Regions from separate parts of the Homo sapiens genome. Here regions 2, 3 and 4 are each linked to region 1. The links are contacts of gene promoters, found by promoter capture Hi-C in human tissues and cell types (Jung and others, 2019). All regions are on one chromosome and are shown on one strand. The core of a region is centred on a gene start or on the middle of the fragment in contact, and the rest is flanking DNA. Distances in the headings are between cores, read along the strand shown. Region 1 holds the start of CCNL2 (cyclin L2). Region 2 overlaps LOC105378586 (a long non-coding RNA gene). Region 3 overlaps SSU72 (SSU72 homolog, RNA polymerase II CTD phosphatase). Region 4 holds the start of TNFRSF18 (TNF receptor superfamily member 18).

Region 1 (3,192 bases), core at 360-2,859:
TGGTTGGCGTGCTCCTATAGTCCCAGCTACTCAGGAGGCTGAGGCAGGAGAAACTCTTGAGCCTAGGAGGTTGAGGCTGTAGTGAGCCATGATCATACCACCGCACTCTGCCCTGGACAACAGGAAACCTGTCTCAGGAGGAAAAAAAAGATTATCCAGCCTGAATGTCAATAGTGCTGAGATTAAGATTCCCTGCTCCAGAGCACTCAGAAACTTGTGGGACAGAAGCAGCAGCAGGGCCGTGCACTGACATGGGTAAAGCAGGAAGCCAGCCCCAGCGCGACCCGCCACAGCGCACTGTCCTCACTGGAGCCCCTGCCCTTACTAAACCGCATCTACTGATGCCTCTGAGCAGGCTCTGTTGGTGGAGCTTGAGACTGCGCTCATGAATATCCCACAGGTTTAGAGCCTCAGGCCTGTATTGTGTTATACAAGCCTTACTGTAACTTAATCAGAAATAAAGAAAATAGGCATCTATGATAGACTAGACAGCTCTGACTGACTCACTTTTTGTCTCTCAGCTGTCGAAGGCGGTGAAACACATTGATGACGTCCCGTATGCGTCTTGGGGCCTCTTCTATCTTGGAAGCCAGGTGGACACAGGCCATTGACACATGCTGAAGCGGAAGCATTGCAACACGCCCATGTTTGTCCCCAGCCACGGCGTCCTGACGGCCGCCAAAGGCTTGAGGGCTATTCAGACCAAAAGGGAGGTGCACCCAGGGGAAAAAAAAAGTCAAGAAACAGAACCCTCCGGCACAGAGCTCAGACTGGGGGGCAAGTACTCACTCCCTTAGTAACCGGGCAAAGTAACAAACCGTTTTACCCTCAACATACTTCGCTGGGAATGAAGTGCAGGAGGAAGCCTTACCTCCATGGAGTGCTTCACGAAGGACTTGGTATAAAAGAACCGCTGGAACAACACCTGCCCGGTAGCCATGGCCACCTAGAGTAGAAGAAAGTTTCCGTATTTTCAAACGCACCATTCAAAGCCTTCGCGGCCGAAAGTCATCGAGTAACGTGGGACTCCCCACGCAGAACCAAACACTGAAACGCTTCCCACGTCCACAAAGGCTCTTCGCGTCCCGCCGTCTCGGGATCCAGCGCACTGGCGGGCGGGGAGGCCCCGGGTCAGGGGCATGGGCTGGCTAGGGAATGGCGCCGAGGCTGGGGTCGGGGCAGGGGCTGGGGTCGGGGTCTAGGCGGGGGCGGTGCGGGCCCGACTCGCCGCCAACAAAGGCGGCTGCCGCCCCAGCGGTTACCTGGGCCGGAGGCTCGCGGCCGCGCCCTCACCTGCGGCAGGCGGAGCAGGATACCGGCCGCCTGGATGAGCTCGCAGCCCACCACGCGGAGGTCGGTCTCTGTGTCGGTGTCGAGGCCGCTCGACATGGACGGCGTGAAACGGAGCTTGTCGTCAGGCAGGAGGCAGTTCTCCAAGGTGATGAGCACCCCGGAGTACAGCCTGTCCCCGATCAGCACCCCCTGCGACCCTGAGGGTGCGCCCCCAGATCCCGGGGCGCCGGCCGCTGCCGCGGGAGCTGCCGACCCTGCAGCACCAGCCGCCGCCGCCGCCGCCGCCATTTTGTGCCGCCGACTCCCCTTCGGCTTCTTCCCTCAGGGCGGCTCCTCGCGAAGCTCCACGGCCGCCACCGCCCCGCCCCGTCGCGTGCCATTGGTTCGGCCCGCGACCAGCGCGACGCCGCCTAGCCGCAATTGGCTACATAACCTGCCCGTCAGCAACGCGCCTAACGCCGACGCCGGAACCTGGCGCGGGTGGGGCGGGCTCGTTACCCAGGGGACTCCGCGGTGCCGGCCGACCCGGAAGCATGTCTGTCCCTAGCGGAGGCGCGGGTGCCGTGCTGAGAGCGCCTGCCTGTGCGCCCCGAGCGGGGCTGGGACTCTTCCAAGATGCCCACGTTCGCACAGAGACCCCGGATCGCGGAAGCTCGCGTCTCGAAAGGCCTGTGGGTCAAGGGGGGCCATCTCGGTGGGATCTGGGGCGGGACGACCCCCACTGCTGAACCCTGGGCGCGGGGCAGGGTCAGAGGCTCCGCTCGGCCTCCCCCTGGATGAGACGCGCATGCCCGGTGTCCCCCGGCCGCCGTCGGCGTCGTGTCTTCAGTCCTTATCGACTCCAGACTTTGGGGATGCGTATTAACGCCAGACTCCTGCAAAGTCTTGCCTTCAACACTCAGCCCCTGGGGAGAGACGGGTGGAGGGATGACTGGAAACGTGGCCTCGACGTCCCTACAGAGCCCCTCCAGCGTGGGGAGGCCTAAGTACCTCAAGGTTCAGGCCCACGGAAGGAGTCGGGGGAGCGAGGCCCGGTGATCTACGTGTGAAGGAGCTTGGACAGGACCTCACAAACGCCAGGGAGACGGCGAGGGGGTTCGTGCGTTTGTAACGTCTTGACATCGCTGATCCTCCCGCAGGCGGTCTCACGCCCTGCCCGTCCTGGGTTCACGGTTTTTCATCACCTGCGGCTGTCCTGCGATCGACCACAGCTGTGCAGGAGGGGCAGGAGGTATCTGTTGCTGCAGTTACCGGAACCTTTGCCAGGACTAGTACAGGACCACGGGTGAGGATGGTGGGGAAGCCTGCGTGGGGCAGGGAACGGTGAGGCAGGAAGAGGGAAGGGCAGCAGAGGCCTGAGTGGTTGCAGGTTCACACACTGAGCTGCCAGTAACTGCCCAGCTCAGACGGGCTCAAATTCAGAAGCCACCATTGCTCCTCACCCCCACCCCCAGGTCAGCTGTCCACTAGCTCTGCCATGACTTGATACTGCAGCTCAAACAGTGCCAACCAAAACCCACTCTCCTCACCGCCTGTTATGGGTAACACGGTATGGTTACAGCTTTACTCATGTCCTCTTTCCCCAGGCTGGTAGCTCAGGGATGTCTCGTCTGTGAGTTACAGCTGCACGCTCTCCAGGAAAGAAGGAATTTCCTCTTCTCTGGAAACCCCACCACACAGCTGGTTTCTCATTGGTGCTGCTTGCCCATTCCCTGAGCTGTGACTGCCAGAGGAGTGGGAGGTTGGTGGTGCCTCCAGCCCATCAGGGGCAGGCCCTGGGACCGCCTGGGAACAGGAGGACTATGGCACAAACCGAGTGAGTGATGGGAGCAACCCGCAGGGCTCTGCCACATCCCTGTCTTCCTTCACTGACATGAAACGCAGAAAAGGCAGCTTTGC
Region 2 (3,528 bases), core at 891-3,390, 210 kb after region 1:
CAGCTGGACTTCTGAGGTGGGACCTGCCACGTGCTAACTCTGGCACTCGGAGCGGTCTCTGCCACTGGCAATGTCCTGTCCTGAACATTTCCAGTGTGGCCTCTCTCCTGAAAGGCCTGTGTGCGACTTCTTTGTGAAGCCGGAAGAAAGTTCTGGGACTTCCCCTTCTCCTTTGGTGCAAAGTTACACTAACTGTCATGATGTTGTTGATTTCCTTTTTTTTTTTTTTTTTTTTGAGAGTCTCACTCTGTTGCCTAGACTGGAGTGCAATGGCGTGATCTCGGCTCACTACAGCCTCCGCCTCCTGGGTTCAAGTGATTCTCCTGCCTCAGCCTCCCAAGTAGCTGGGATTACAGGCGCCTGCCACCACGCCTGGCTAATTTTGTATTTGTAGTAGAGACGGGGTTTCACCATGTTAGCCAGGCTGGTCTTGAACTCCTGACCTCAGATGATCCGCCCACCTCAGCCTCCCAAAGTGCTGGGATTACAGGCGTGAGCCACCGTGCCCGGCCTTGATTTCCTTCTTAAGCAGAGCTGAGTCTCTGTCTCTGTCCACACCAGTGCCTCCTGGGCCTTCCTGAGCACGTGTGGCTGGCATCGCTTCCCATCTCTGCTCCCTGTGGCATCTTGCTGTGTCCCCGGCACCTCTGCAAAGCACAGCCACAATGCATGCTGAATGCATCAACATGCAGAATTCACTCACGGGTCACACAGTTAGTCAAAAATGTCGATGCCCTGCCAGATGGAGAGATGGGAGAGAATACGGATCCCTCCATGAGTCCAAGCCTGACGTGCACTCCCCTCGGGCCTCCTCTTCCTGTGCTCCAGGTTTTCTGTTTCAAGGCCGCTCTTCCCTTCCTTACTGTGTGTCAGCTCAGTCATGGATTTTAAACAATGCTTTCCATATATATATATAATATATGTACTATATATTATATATGTATATATATAATATGTATTATATATAATGTATGTATAATATATATAATTATATATATATGTATTTTTTTTTAGATGGAGTCTTGCTCTGTCACCCAGGCTGGAGTGCAGTGGTGCAATCTTGGCTCACTGCAACCTCTGCCTTCCGGGTTCAAGTCATTCTCCTGCCTCAGCCTCCTGTGCTTTCCATATTTTATACAGATTGTTTGCCAGGCACAGTGGCTCACACCCGTAGTCCCAACTACTTGGGAGGCTGAGGCGGGAGGACCCCTTGAGCCTAGGAGTTTGAGGCTGCAGTGAGCTATGATTGCACCCCTGCACTCCAGCCTGGGGAACAGAGCAAGATCCCCATCTCTAAAAAATAATTAAAAAATAGGCCGGGCGCGGCAGCTCATGCCTGTAATTCCTGCACTTTGGGAGGCTGAGGCAGGCAGATTGCTTGATGTCAGGAGTTGGAGACTAGTCTGGGCAGCACAGCGAGACCCCTGTCTCTACAAAATGTACCAAAAAAAAATTAGCTGGATGTGGTGGCACGAGCCTGTAATCCCAGCTACTCAGGAGGCTGAGGAAGGAGAATCACTTGAGCCCGGGAGGTCAAGGTTGCAGTGAGCCATGATTGCGCCTCTGTACTCCAACCTGGGCAACAGAGTGAGACCCTGTCTCAAAAATAATAATAATAATACCAATAAAACACATTATACAGATCTTTTATTGTTTCATTGAGAAGATCTTGCAGGTGACCTGACTTACCATATTGCTGAAAATAGTCATTGATTTCCTTAATCATTTGATTTTCATTCAGGGGCCAAATCTGGTCCACAAATATGTTATAAAAGTAGGTAACTGCGGCCGGGCACGGTGGCTCATGCCTGTAATCCCAAGACTTTGGGAGGCCGAGGCGGGCAGATCATGAGGTCAGGAGATCAAGACCAGCCTGGCTAACATGGTGAAACCCCGTCTCTACAAAAAATACACAAAAAAATTAGCTGGGCGTGGTGGCGGGCGCCTGTAGTCCCAGCTACTCAGGAGGCTGAGGCAGGAGAATGGCATGAACCCAGGAGGCGGAGCTTACAGTGAGCCGAGATCGTGCCACTGCACTCTAGCCTGAGTGACAGAGCGAGACTCTGTCTCAAAAAAAAAAAAAAAAAAAAGTAGGTACCGGCCGGACGCAGTGGCTCACGCCTGTAATCCCAGCACTATTGGAGGCCAAGGTGGGTGTATCACTTGAGGTCAGGAGTTCAAGACCAGCCTGGCCAACATGGTGAAATCCCGTCTCTACTGCAAAAACTCAAAAATTAGCCAGGCGTGCTGGCACGCGTCTGTAGTCCCAGTTACTCTGGAGGCTGAGGCAGAAGAATCACTTGAACCTGGGAGGCGGAGGTTGCAGTGAGCCAAGATAGTGCCACTGCACTCCAGCCTGGGCAACACAGTGAGACTCTGTCTCAAAAAAAAAAAAAAAAAGGTACCGGCCAGGTGCGGTGGCTCACGTCTGTAATCTCAGCACTTAGGGAGGCCGAGGCAGGTGGATCACTTGAGGTCAGGAGTTCAAGACCAGCCTGGCCAACATGGTGAAACCCCATCTGTATTAATAGTAAATCCAAAAATTAGCTGGTTGTGGTGATGCACGCCTGTAGTCCCAACTACTCGGGAGGCTGAGGCGGGAGAATCACTTGAACCCAGGAGGTGGAGGTTGTAGTGAGACAAGATTGCGCTACTGCAATCCCACCTGGGCAACAAGAAGGAAACTCTGTCTCAAAAAAAAAAAAAGAAAAGAAAAAAGAAAAAACATATTGTCCTGGCTGCTGAGGGGCCTAAGGCCACACACGTGGCAGTTAGCTCAGCCGTGCACCTGTGGGAGTGACAGACCTCAGCCTGGAAGACATTATCTGTGGATCTCCAGTGCAAAAGTGGCCAGTACCAAAATGGAGTCACTTATGTCAAACCCTGAAAAATGGAGCCAGGAGGCCACGAAGGACGGGCTCTCCCAGGTGTGCCAGGAAAGAAACTACGGAATTTCTCAAAACCACAGTACTGCCGCTAAGCTGCCTGCACGAGGACGCTTGCCTGACAAGGGCCGTCTTCACCTCCAGATGAATGCCAACTCCTGCAACAAGCCTGATACAGTTTGGCTGTGTCCCCATCCAAATCTCATCTTGCATTTCCCACAATCCCCACGTGTTGTGGGAGGGACCTGGTGGGAGGTAATTGAATCATGGGGCCAGTTACCCCCATGCTGTTCTCGTGACAGTGAGTTCTCAGGACATCTGGTAGTTTTATAAGGAGCTTTTCCCCTTTGCTCAGCAGGTTTCTCTCCTGCAGCCAGGTGAAGGATGTGTTTACTTCCCCTTCTGCTGTGATTGTTAAGTTTCTTGAGCCACGTGGAACTGTGGGTCAGGTAAACCTCTTTCCTTTATAAATTACCCAGTCTCAGGCAGTTCTTCGTAAGACCGTGAGAATGGACTAACACAAAGTCCCCGTCACCTATGCTCTTTGCTTCAAAGCAGCTTAGGTGGGCTTCTCCTTTCTGTTTTTTTAGAAGCTTCCCCTGTCCCAGCCTCTCTGGATGTGCCTGTGGTCTGCCATAGCACG
Region 3 (3,322 bases), core at 755-3,254, 160 kb after region 1:
TGGGACACTGGGCTCAGCTCCTTCTTTTAGAATGACCAGAGACAGGCTCATCCTCTGCCTATACCAAGTCCTTCCGGATGAGACTGCTGAAGCTGGACTCAGTCCTTGCAGAACGTGGCAAGTACTTCCCAGGTCTGGAACCCAGGAGGTCACAGTGGGCTGACATGAAGGGGCTGAGCTTACACCAATCAAGGGAGTGTGAGGATGTGCGTCACTCTCTGCTTTTCTTTCTCTTACTGAATATACAAGAACTTAAAAATAAACAGTGCTAACTGAAGAGTAATTGTCAAAAACAGGATGTCAGGCTAAGCTTCATGGCACAGAGTTTAATGTGAATCATGAGATGAGACAAAAGCCTCCTCCAGGGCGATGGGAAGACCCAGCCCCAAACCAGACTCTTGAGCACGCAGCCCTAAACCAGACTCCGGGAAGGGGCTGCGTGGTCATGCACCGCCTAAGACTCAGAGGTGAAGATGGGAAGACCCAGCCCTAAACCAGACTCCTGGAAGGGGCTGCGTGGTCACGCATCGCCTAAGACTCAGAGGTGAAGATGGGAAGACCCAGCCCTAAACCAGACTCTTGGAATAGGCTCTGTGGCCACCCATCGCCGTAAGGCTCCGGGATGGAGACAGCATGGACAGGGACCTCGCACAAAGGCATGTCGGGAGGGCCTCCTTTCCAAGGCACAGCCCCACCTGCTCCTTCTCAGCCCACGACGGGAGCAGAGCCATGTCGAAGCCGTGCCCCACACAGGGTGGACAAGGACATGGCCTGACAGCTCCTCAGAAATCCTTAGAGATTTTTCCAAACGCAGGTTACCAGGGCTTCTGCAGAGAGAGGGGCAGCAGGACGTGCTGCTGACAGTCCCTGGGGACTTACACTGACTTGCAGTGAGAGCCCACATCTGCCACCAGGATGGCTCCCAGCACCACCGCGTCACAAGCACCACACTCTCCACCGTGGGACGCCCAGATGGCTCGGCAGGCAGGCCGGGCTGGGGAGCTGACAGCAGACGCCTGGGACTCTGCCCAGCGTCCTCACCCACAACCTTTTAACTGTAACTGGCAGAGGAGACAGCAGGGAGGGCAGAAGGTACAGTGATGGCTAGGATGCAGTTCTAGGTTTTGCCAGACATACTTTCAGGGGCCACTCCTGGCTACCTAATTAATCTACCTGTGTATAAGAATTTTTTAGCTTATTAAATATTCCAAGAGGCCAGGCATGGTGGCTCACGCCTGTAATCCCAACACTCTGAGAGGCCGAGGCAGCTGGATCACGAGGTCAAGAGTTCAAGACCAGTTTGGTCAAGATGGTGAAACCCCCGTCTCTACTAAAAATACAAAAATTAGCCAGGCATGACAGCGGATGCCTGTAATCCCAGCTATTCGGGAGGCTGAGGCAGAGAATCGCTTGAACTTGGGAGGGGGAGGTTGCAGTGAGCTGAGATCAAGCCGCTACACTCCACCTTGGGCAACAGGGTGAGACTCTGACTCCATCTCAAAAAAAAAAAAAAAAAAAAATACAAGAGTAGGGCTGAGCATGGTGGCTCACGCCTGTAATCCCAGCACTTTGGGAGGACGAGGAGGGTGGATCACCTGAAGTCAGGAGTTTAAGACCAGCCTGGCCAACATGGTGAAACCCTGTGACTACTAAAAATACAAAAATTAGCCAGGTGTGGTGGCGCGTGCCTGTAATCCCAGCTACCCAGGAGGCTGAAGCAGGAGAATCACTGGAACCCGGGAGGTGGATGTTGCAGTGAGTCTGCAGTGAGCCAAGATCTCGCCACTGCACTCCAGCCGGGGTGACACAGTGAGACTCTGCTGGGAAAGGGCGGGGATGGCAAGAGTGCCAATACATAGACAATGCTGGGCAAGGCCAGAGATGCTGGTCAAGGGCGGGGATGTCGGGAGAGGGCGGGGATGGCAACAGTGCCAACACGAAGATAAAAGGTTTAGCATTTGACACCTATTCTCTTTTCATTTGGAATACGTTTGGCCTGGCCTCCGTTCTGAAAACTACAAATCACTCACTATAACAAAATAAGATCCAGAAACTTTCCATTAGCGTGGGGGTGACCATGAAATGCCTGGTCAAAAACCCGGGCACTGATTGTCATAACCATTATGCAACTGGTGTTGCGTCCATCAGAATCTAGTTTAAGAATACTCTTCTCTCTATAGGAGTCTTCGCGGCAGACCTAGCCTGCTCTGTGTCCTCCTGAAATGAAGGAATGTTCTCTCCCATTATTTCTTCTAACAGCTTGGTTAGCAAGCTCCGCCCTCTTCTTTATCTGACCTTCTAACGACCTCACCAGATGTGTGAAGCAGCCCGGCTCCATGTGTATCAGGCACGCACGCACACACGCACGCACACCAACCTGCAAAGGAAATAACGGGGCAGCCCTGCAGTGTGAAAAGCAATGGGATTTTGTGGGTTCCACCTCCTCACCTAAGCATCCCTGGTCTACGCTATGTCACGACCCTCTGCTGAACCACGTCAGGGTGAACCCCACACCGTGTCTGTGCGCCTCACCACGCCTACTGCCATGGGTGGCACTGGAACTAACCCGTGGACGATCCGACGTGCACCAGGAATAGAAACCAAGCTCTCGCAAAGACAGAGGAGCCAGTGTGTGCACTGCACAGGGTGACACGCCTCCTGTGCCCGAGCCACACGTAACACCTTCCAGGGAGGACCACACGGGGGGTTTTTAAAGGGCAACCCGCTGGGATACAGTTCTTTGTCTTTCCTAAGAAGATCATTGTACATCTGGTCATATGTGGTTTTGAAATCATAAACATTGGGCTTGTCGGGAGCTGGTCCTGGAAGCTTCACGTGAGTCCCTGTTCCAAAGGATCGGACGCTGAATCCCCGTTTGCTGAAAGACAAAAGGAGAGAAAGAATCACAGTCACACTAAGACACAAAATTCCAAAAGCAAGGGACAGCAAATGGGATAGAAACAAAATGAGTAATTTCATTGGCTCATAGTAGAGAATATGTCTTCAAATTTTTAATCTAGGCCGGGCATGGTGGCTCGCGCCTGTAATCCCAGCACTTTGGGAGGCCAAGGCAGGCGGATCATGAAGGCAGGCGGATCATGAAGGCAGGCGGATCATGAAGGCAGGAGATCAAGACCATCCTGGCTAACACGGTGAAAACCCGTCTCTACTAAAAATACAAAAAATTAGCCGGGCGCGGTGGCGGGCACCTGTAGTCCCAGCTACTCGGGAGGCTGAGGCAGGAGAATGGCGTGAACCCGGGAGGCGGAGCTTGCAGTGAGCAGAGATAGCACCACTGCACTCCAGCCTGGGCGACAGGCTG
Region 4 (3,337 bases), core at 676-3,175, 190 kb before region 1:
CCCAGGTGGGGCGTCTGGGGTGGGGCCCAGTGAGGGCACCTGGGGGAGGTGCGCAGAGTGCAGTGGGCCTGCCAGGGAGGGGAAAGGCCTGCCCATTGGGGGCTGAGGGTGGGCAGAAGCCAGGCAGGACCCAGTAGAACAGAGGGTGGAGAACAGTGAGGGTCCCAGAGAGAGTGAGGCTGGGTCCCAGTTGACCCCAGACCCTGCCCCGTCCAACCTGACACAACCTCCCCAGTTGTACCTTCTCCCAGCTCTCATGTGCCCAGCCTGACCTCTCCTGTCAGGTAAACAAGCCGCTAAGAGGACTTGAGCTGCTCCTTCCAGAACAGGGTGCAGCCCCAGGCCCCAGACAGGACTCCGGGGGGCACAGGGCAGGCTCTTTCAGTATGTGGTGAGGACAGACAGGATGGGTGTCCCGGGCCTGAGAGCCAGACAGCTCCTGGAACCCGCCCCCACCTCCCCGCAGGGTTCTCACAGCCCTCGTGCTGGATGGAGAAGCCCAGGCTGAGAAAGCAGGGACAGGACACCCCCAGAGCTTCATGGCCTGTGGTGCCTGAGCATGGCCTGGCCTGCCCGGCCTCACAGGACTCCGGACCCCACACACCACATGTCCTCGCCGGACACCTGTGCCCACGAGCTCTGCCTCGGGCCCTAGTGGAACCCCTGGCCTGTGTGGACTCCCAGAGGCACCTCCAGGACTTACCCTGGGACTGTACCCCCTGGCCTGGGGGACAAGGGTGGTGCCGGCAGGTCGTGCAGCAAGGGTCTCCGCAGTGGAATTCAGGCTGGACACACATGCAGTCCCACTCGGAACAGCACTCCTCGCCTGGGCAGGAGACAGGCCAGCCCCCCAGCAGCTGGGCTGAGGCCCCCTCCTCCCCAGGCCTCCCCTCGGCCCTCCAGGGGAGTGAGGTTGTCCGTTCTCCACCCACAGTTGGCTCCAGGGAGCAGAGGGCTCCTGGCTGGGAGTCTGGACCCTGGGTTTATCCAGCTGTCTCTTTCTCCTGGGGCCATGTGGCCTGGCTACTCCCCCTTTGCGCCCCACAGCTGCCCCTGCCCAGGTGCTAACTCCATATGCAACCAGGAGCTGCCCCTGCAGGACCCAGGGGTGGCCCCCAACAGTGCACAGTCCCCTGGAGGCCCGTCGACACCTCAGAGGCCGCCTGCCTGGTGTCTGGGCGCTGCTGTCCCCACCACCAGCCACACTGGGCCTCCGGACAGAGCCTCCCTTCCCAACCCACAGGCCCTGGAGGAAGAAGCTCTGGGGTGACTTCCCTGCCAGCTTCCTCTCCAGACCAGCCGTGTCAGCTGAACCCTCATCCCCAGGTGCAGGTCAGAGGCAGGCAGCAGGCCAGACGGTGGTGCAGGGGGGCCCTCAACTGGGCAGGAGGGGGCTGGGCGATGGCCAAGGGCTCACGACCCGCCCAGCAGGACCTGGAACAGCCGTCCTCCACCTCCAGACCCCAGACCCCTCTTGAGGGCGCTCCCACCTGGCTCACCCCTGCTCCCGGCCGGGGCCACTGGCTGGAGCTGGCACACCTCCGCCTCCCTCTGGGATCCTGCCTCCCTCCGGAAGGCTCCCGCTGCTGGCGGCTCTGTGCCCACCCTCCTTAGACCTCAGCAACGCCGGTCTGAGCACGGGAAGGGGGGCGCCCACCCATCCCGGCTTCCGCGGGACGCCTTGGCCGGTCCGCGTTAAGTAAACGCGGTTTACTTACCCGGGTAATCGCGGCAGCAGCGCGTCGTGTGAACCCGGCAGCAGCGCGCGTCCGTTCCCGTCCCAAGCAGGAGGCGCCCAGGGCCGCACCCGGGACCCCCGGTGGGGCGCTGACCCAGGCTGAGCGCGCACAGCAGCGCCAGGCCGCACAGGGCCCGAAACGCGCCCATCGCCCCGTGCTGTGCCATGCTCGGGTTTCAAGAGCCCACAGCCAGTTGGACACGCCCCGTCCCCGTCCTCACCCGCCCTGCCCGGAGGTGGCTGGGACCGTTCATGACCTGAGAATCCCGACCCAGGTGAAGTGCGTGTGAGGAGGGGGTGTAGACACTGCGGACACAGCCCGGTCCCCCGCAGGTCGCCGGCAGGGGCGGGGAAACCAGGCTGGCGGGGATCAGAAAGGTTTTCTATGCAAAGTCTGCGGCCACATTGGTGTCCCCAGTGCAGGGGGCGGCGTTTATAGCACCTTGTCCCATGGGGGCCCCTTGGAGGGCGGGGGTCAGCCAATCACTCCTCCATCCCACTGCCTCCGGGTGGTATCTGCGAGTCCCCGAGAGGTCTCCACAAATTCTGGCCACCCCCAGAGAGCCTCAACCATGGAGCCCCGTGCTGGGGAACCCCACAGAATGGGGACAGGGACCCCTCGGCTCAGCACACCCCACCTGGCTGGCTTCAGGTGTGAAACTCACCATGGGCTGCAGGCCTGTGGGCTCCCCTCCCCCTTGCTTGCAGCTCTCCAGGACCCCCCTCAGGCCAACCTGGGAAGTTCCCCGGGGCTTGGGAGGGGCACCAGGAGGAGCTGGTGGGGAGACGAGAGGGTGCTGGCGCCTCCTCGGGACAGTGTCAGCCGCCCCCGCGGGCACCCAGGGCCCGGTCTCTCAGAGCCACCTTCATCCGTCACACCAGACAGATCCAGGTCCCGGAGGGAGTTGAGGAGGAGCCCCTCGCAGAGCTCTTGGGAGACTGTCCTATGTCTTTCTGAGCCTCAGTTTCCCCTGTGGGCACCGAGGGGTTCTGGGACCCTGCCTCCACCAGGAAGCCTCCCTGGATTGCCCAGCCCTGCTTCTGCGCCGTCCAGCACAGGTGGAGACCCCCATGAATGCTGGGGGTGGGGGCTCTCGGGAACGTGAGCGTGGATGTGGTTCAACACCCTTTTGAGACCTGCAGCCACCGCCTCACCCCGTAAGGCGGTTCCTCCTTTTCCAAGGTAAATGACAGGAATTAGCTGTTTGTGACACCCCGGAGTTCTCAAATCCAAGATGTAGGAGCCTGCCTTGGAGAGGCAGCCCTCAGACACTGCAGAGAAGGAAGGGGTCTCTGCAGCTCCAGGCCGCCCCGACGCTCGGAAGGAAAGGGGTGGGGCCAGCTGGGCCTGGGGGCCTTTGAGAGGCCTGGAGATCTTCAGCCCCGAGGCTGGGAGGGGGTCTGGGCCCCTGGATAGAAAGAGGCGCCATCAGTGGCTCACGCCCGTAATCCCAGCATTTTGGGAGGCCGAGGTGGGCCTCGGATCACCTGAGGTCAGGGGTTCGAGACCAGCCTGACCCACATGGAGAAAGCCCGTCTCTACTAAAAATACAAAAAAAATTAGCCAGGCGTGGTGGCGCACGCCTGTAATCCCAGCTA

The links. Contacts are between HindIII fragments. The study calls those that stand out against the background at their distance.
Region 2: a fragment that was not itself captured here is called in contact with the fragment with the promoter of CCNL2 in region 1 in 2 of the 25 tissues and cell types used here (bladder and dorsolateral prefrontal cortex).
Region 3: a fragment that was not itself captured here is called in contact with the fragment with the promoter of CCNL2 in region 1 in 3 of the 25 tissues and cell types used here (dorsolateral prefrontal cortex, lymphoblastoid cells and mesenchymal stem cells).
Region 4: a contact is called between the fragment with the promoter of TNFRSF18 here and the fragment with the promoter of CCNL2 in region 1, in 1 of the 25 tissues and cell types used here (small bowel).

What each region holds. Positions count from the first base shown.
Region 1 is chr1:1,397,726-1,400,917 of GRCh38, forward strand. It overlaps CCNL2 (cyclin L2), which reads right to left and starts at 1,610. Exons shown (of 11, transcript NM_030937.6): 1 at 1,294-1,610; 2 at 872-946; 3 at 508-617. The coding sequence starts at 1,581. MRPL20-AS1 (MRPL20 antisense RNA 1) reads left to right here and starts at 1,805. Exons shown (of 3, transcript NR_015434.1): 1 at 1,805-1,964; 2 at 2,433-2,578; 3 at 2,880-3,192. RefSeq lists silencers at 1,323-1,502, 1,573-1,812, 2,103-2,162 and an enhancer at 2,548-3,091. The HindIII fragment of the contact is 25,727 bases long and covers 1-3,192 here.
Region 2 is chr1:1,607,127-1,610,654 of GRCh38, forward strand. It overlaps LOC105378586 (a long non-coding RNA gene), which reads left to right. Exons shown (of 3, transcript NR_147951.1): 3 at 1-84. Among named protein-coding and RNA genes, the nearest start is that of MIB2, 6.6 kb to the right of the region's middle. The HindIII fragment of the contact is 9,421 bases long and covers 1-3,528 here.
Region 3 is chr1:1,562,039-1,565,360 of GRCh38, forward strand. It overlaps SSU72 (SSU72 homolog, RNA polymerase II CTD phosphatase), which reads right to left. Exons shown (of 5, transcript NM_014188.3): 2 at 2,735-2,878. Among named protein-coding and RNA genes, the nearest start is that of SSU72, 11 kb to the right of the region's middle. The HindIII fragment of the contact is 6,810 bases long and covers 1-3,322 here.
Region 4 is chr1:1,204,667-1,208,003 of GRCh38, forward strand. TNFRSF18 (TNF receptor superfamily member 18) reads right to left here and starts at 1,926. Exons shown (of 5, transcript NM_004195.3): 1 at 1,719-1,926; 2 at 704-826. The coding sequence starts at 1,905. RefSeq lists a silencer at 509-709. The HindIII fragment of the contact is 29,019 bases long and covers 1-3,337 here.